2 separate regions of the Homo sapiens genome follow, and region 2 is linked to region 1. The links are contacts of gene promoters, found by promoter capture Hi-C in blood cells and fetal thymus (Javierre and others, 2016). All regions are on one chromosome and are shown on one strand. The core of a region is centred on a gene start or on the middle of the fragment in contact, and the rest is flanking DNA. Distances in the headings are between cores, read along the strand shown. Region 1 holds the start of CDHR1 (cadherin related family member 1). Region 2 has its middle 21 kb from the start of LINC00858.

The links. Contacts are between HindIII fragments. The CHiCAGO score rates a contact against its expected background, and 5 or more counts as called.
Region 2: a contact is called between a fragment that was not itself captured here and the fragment with the promoter of CDHR1 in region 1, in 1 of 17 cell types (neutrophils). The highest score is 6.4, in neutrophils.

What each region holds. Positions count from the first base shown.
Region 1 is chr10:84,193,177-84,195,876 of GRCh38, forward strand. It overlaps CDHR1 (cadherin related family member 1), which reads left to right and starts at 1,361. Exons shown (of 17, transcript NM_033100.4): 1 at 1,361-1,639; 2 at 2,318-2,413. The coding sequence starts at 1,585. RefSeq lists silencers at 1,257-1,386, 1,457-1,576. The HindIII fragment of the contact is 5,936 bases long and covers 1-2,700 here.
Region 2 is chr10:84,299,164-84,301,863 of GRCh38, forward strand. No RefSeq gene overlaps it. Among named protein-coding and RNA genes, the nearest start is that of LINC00858, 21 kb to the left of the region's middle. The HindIII fragment of the contact is 8,547 bases long and covers 1-2,700 here.

The sequences.
Region 1 (2,700 bases), core at 111-2,610:
CACGGCAAGACTCAGTCTCCACATCCCTATATGGGACTTGCAGAATACTTGCCTTAGCTTTGTCCCAGCACTTTGGGAGGCAGATTCAGAACATCTGTGCAATTTAAAGTGTGTCTTTTCAGCAAAAGAGCCAAGCCTAAGGAGACTCAACAAGGGTTTCGGCCAATTAGGCCTGAAAACTGCTGCACATTCTAAAACCATTGATTCATCTTCCTTCTTCTCTGCAAATCCCTGACCCTTGCTCACAGTAGATCATGTAGGGCTAGACCAAGGGATGGGGGGTGCTCTGTTCCCTCAAAGGCCCCTGGCAGGGGGAGGGGGGGAATGCTGAGTCCTCAGCTGTGGAGACCTCTCCCAGGAGCACACAGAGGAGGGATCTCCTCTATCTGAGAACACATCCACCCAAGGGCATCCTGGGAAGTGGCCTGGCTTGGGCTTGAAGTGACCTGTACCCCCATAAATGGCCCAACCAGGAAAAGGAAAACAGGCTGCATTTCCAAGCACCCTCCAGTGTCAGAGCAGGAGAACGAGGAAGCCCAAGGAGCTTTACCAGCAGCCAAAAAGGTTCCTGGGCTTACCTGTGTCTTCAAGTTATCAGCATCCAGGACCCCAATAGCAGTGCCTTGCTTTGTGTAAATACCCTCTAGGAATGAGATCTCGTGCCTCTCGGGCAGTTCAGATCTATCTTGGCCAGCTCTGTGCAAGTCTGTCCTAAGATGGGGCTTAACTCTGCCTTCAGGCCCTTCACTCTTCCTTGGAAGGTTTGAAGAGTGGGTCAGCTGCCCCTTCATGGTCCCAGACTGGGCACTGACTGGGAATGGGGAGCAGAACTGCCTCTCACCCTGGTGGACACCTGAGGGTCCTCCCTGCTGCCCACCACACAGATCAGACCCTTTGGGAGAGGTGGTCCAGCCTGGGGAACAGGGCAGGAATGGGTTGAGATCACAGAGAGGGGGTCCTGATAACCCCTTACCATCTGCTGCCCATCCATCACCCTTTCTCTTTGCCTTTGGTCTCACGCGGCTTATAGAACCTGCTTAGACTGCTAAGGCAAGGCCCTCTCGGCCGCTCCACTAACTTTTCTTCTGGAATGCTTAGCTCAGAGAAGACAGCTAAGCCCCTGAAAGTCACAGAGGAAGTTGATGAGAAAAGAAAACTGCGAAGCCCAAGCCCCACCAGGACTTAAGTACCCTGGGAAAGCCTCAGGACAACTTGGGGGAAAGACACTCCTGTCCCCCATGGTGTCCTCCTGTCCAGGACTGGGGGCCGCCGGCAAAGGGGGCGTGGCGGGCGGGGAGTCCTCTTGTCACGCCCTCCTGCCCCCGCCCGCGGCTGGGAGCCTGTCGCTCCGCTCTGCGCCGCTAATTGGTCTCGTCAGGCGGCCGGCAGGAGCAGATCCGAGCCGTGTCATCCTCTTAGCGCCCTCACGCCACCCGCCGCTCCCGCCCCGTGCCCCCTCCCGCCGCGGCTGCAGTCGCCGCTACCCCCATTGTGGTCTCTGCCCTCCCCGCGGGCCCAGGGCATGCTCCGTGCCCCTGCGCCCGGTCTCGGCGGCGGCAGGCGACACTCCGCGCCGGCGGAGACATGAGGCGCTGCCGGTGGGCCGCCCTGGCCCTGGGGCTGCTGCGCCTCTGCTTGGGTGAGTGGCCGCTGGGCCGCGCTGGCCGCGTGGATGGCGAGGGAGATGGGCGCTGGCGTCACCCAGGTGGCCAGAGGGACATGGTCCTGGACCACTTCCAGAGTGGGACTCGGGCTGGTGGACGGGAGCGGAGAAGTCCTTCCATCTTCCTGGCCCATTCGGTAGTGGGGAGTGGGGTAGCGGAGTAGTGGGGAGCTCCGGGGCGCTTCTCCAGAGCTGGCATCCTAGGGCCCCAGGGTTTGGCGCCCGGACCCCCGCTGCTCTCCGCTTGCTGGGAACCAGAGCTGTAGGCTTGGTGGCAGCTCCGATGCTGCGTGGGGCAGGAGATAGTGCCCTGACTCGCGGCTTGACCTTGGCTGGGCTGGGGCACTGCCCCTCTCCGAGCGCGGGTGCAATCTGCCCATTGATGAAGGAGGGGTTGGATTGCTACCTGGGTTCTAAGCGCCCACATGCTACGTGTCCCTGACAAGCCCGAGCCCACCGGGGGCGGAGTGGGGGTCAGGGGCATCCTCTGGGCGGCGCCCCAGTGGGGTCCCTCGGTGCACTTGGGTTGGGGAGGCGGAGCGCCCTCCTGCCCAGTAGCTGGGCCTGACGCGGGACCGCGCTGGTGCGAAGCTCCCTCCTGGTGTCTGGGTGTCCTTTGCCTGGGTGTCCGTCTGTTCTGTGTTCTTTTTCCAGCTCAGGCCAACTTCGCCCCGCACTTCTTCGACAACGGGGTCGGCAGCACCAACGGAAACATGGCTCTGTTCAGCCTCCCAGAGGACACCCCTGTAGGTGAGTAGCCCTGGCACCTGCTCCCGATAGGTCTCCCTGAGGGGTGCAGGCAGACTTAGAACACAAAGTGCCCCAGGCACCACCCAAGTTGCTGCGCGCGCCCGGGGGCTCCTTGTTTGCTCTCCGAATTCCCCTGGGCAATGGCAGGAAAGAAGGTCATTGCTGCCATGGCGACTTAAGTCTGGCCAGTCCTGGAGACCAGGGCTCCCCCCCACAGACAGGGTCGCCCCGCGAGGCAGGCAGCTACAGCTGCCCCTTATGGCTGTGTGACCTTGAACAAATGTATT
Region 2 (2,700 bases), core at 136-2,635, 110 kb after region 1:
AGTGCTGGGATTACAGGCGTGAGCCACCACACCTGCCCCCATCCCTTTGGATTTTGGGGAGAAGTGCTAATCACTACCTTCAATGAAGCAAATCTTCTTCCTCAACTGCCCAAATCAAAGCCCCCAAATTATGTCAGGACAGCCCAGATTGTAGTAGGAAGACAGAGGTCATTGGAAGGGAGCTTTTTCTCCTGGGGGGAGAAAAAAAAGAAGATAATTCTGTATCTGATACCACAGAGACTTTGTTTTTGTGTTTATTGTCTAATGGAAGAAAAGAAAGAATGTTAGGACATTAGAAAAGAAAGACACAGAGCTATACAAGAAGGACAATGTGGTCAAAACGCACTCCTTAGCTCTACAAAGAACATTGTCAGTGTGGACCTAATAAGGTAGCCTGTTTATTGATTTGACCAAAAATAGAAATAGAGCTACATTGGGAGAATGAAGAGAGGGGAGGGTGATGTAAGAGGGCTAAATCATGATCTATAGGAGGTAAAGCAGCAATGTCCGAATTTAGTAAACTACAACTATGAGTGTACGCTTGGGGAGAGATAGGGTATGGTCAGAGGTGGCACAAAGCAGTGCTTTATCATTATCTTCATCATGTATCCTCTTAGAACTCTTAGCCATGTTTGTGTATAACTTTTACTAAAAATTTATACATCTATAAAGAAAAACTGCCCCAACCATCTGTAAAATGAAAATGTGCCTTCTGGGATGGCTGCTGTAGGAAGCAGATACCCTGGGGCTTGCAAGGGGGTTGGAGGAGAGGGGCCTCATGCACTGCCCTACCATCCCTGTGCTGCCTTGGAGGACCAGCAGCAGCCAGGGCCCAGGTGACCTGGTAGAGACCAGCCATCCAGCAGGTCATGCTCTTCCAGCCATCCAGCAGGGAAGAGCTCCTGATGCTGAGGACCCCCAGAGAGGATCCCTCCTGAACCATGGGTCAGAACCTTCTCTCTACTTCCACACATGAGAGGCAGCTGGCCCTGACTGGGGAAGACCAGGTCAACTCTCCAGTTTCACACAGCTCTGTGTATGGCTTTTTCCATTTAAAATTATCTTGTGGGCATTTTTATGCAATATGTATCTTTTGGAATTTGGTGCAAATGCTATCTGGTCTCATTGTGTGGCTATACCATGTTAACGGCATATCTAAAACACAACACTGTGCTGGCTAAGAGTACAGGTGCATCAATCCTATTTTCTCAACTAGAACCCTGACTCTGTCACTTTCCAGCTGTGTGACATGCGGGGACACACAGCTTCAGCTTCTATCTCTGTAAAATAAGGTAATAAGAGTACCTAATTCACAGGGCACTTGTGAGATTTAAATAAATAAATACATGCAAAGTGCTCAGAGCAAGACCCACTGCTTAATAAACACATAACACATTGTAGCTATTACTATTTTTTAGCAATCCTAGCCAGATTAGGTGGCTGGTGCCTGAAATCCCAGCTACTGAGGTAGGAGGTAGGAGGATCCCTTGAGTTCAACCGTTTGAGGCTGCAGTGAGCTATGACTGTGCCACTGCACTCCAGCTTGGGTGACAGAGTAAGACCCTGTCTCTAATAAAAATAATAATAAGAAGAAGACTCCATCCTCATTTTATTTTATTTATGTACTTATTTATTTTGAGACAGAGTCTCGCTCTGTGCCCAGGCTGCAGTGCAGTGCGTGATCTTGGTTCACTTCAACTTCTGCCTCCCGGGTTCAAGCAATTCTCCTGCCTCAGCCTCTCGAGTAGCTAGCTGGGACTACAGGCACACACAACTACGCCTGGCTAATTTTGGTATTTTTAGTAGAGACAGGGTTTCACCATGTTGGCCAGGCTTGTCTTCAACTCCTGACCTGAGGTGACCCACCTGCCTCTGCCTCCCAAAGTCCTGGGCTTACAGGCGTGAGCCACCGCACCTGGCCGCCATCCTCATTTTAAATATAGGATTTCTTTTTCCTAAAGCACACTTTAATAAACCTCCTTATACAACTTAATCACACACAAAAATTCATATTCGTTAAAGAAAAAAATAGACCATGCACATGAGCAAAAAAAGAAAACAAAAGCTACTTGGAATATTACCCTTTTCCCCCAAAGATAACCGTAATATATTTGGTGCTATATATTTCAAATCTCTTTCCTTTGCGTGTGTGTGTATACACATATGTATACATATACATACACACACATATTTACACATATACACACAATATATTTGTACACTATATACACACATAACTCCTTAGAAAAATTCGTTTTGTGATACTGTTTTATAGTTTTCTTTTTACCAGTTAAGAATAGATCATTGGAGTTATGTGTGTATATAGTGTATATTTTGTGTATATGCGTATATATGTGTGTGTATATATATATGTATACATGTATGTATACACACACACAAAGGAAAGATATATATATGTATATATGTATACATATGTATATATACACATATATACATATATACACATACATATACGTACACACACACACACACACACACACACACAGGAAAGAGATTTGAAATATATACACCAAATATATTGTGGTTATCTTTGGGGGAAAAGGGTAATATTCCAATTAGCCGGGCGTGGTGGCAGGCACCCGTAGTCCCAGCTACTTGGGAGGTTGAGGCAGGAGAATGGCGTGAACCTGGGAAGCGGAGCTTGCAGTGAGCCTAGATCGTGCCACTGCACTCCAGCCT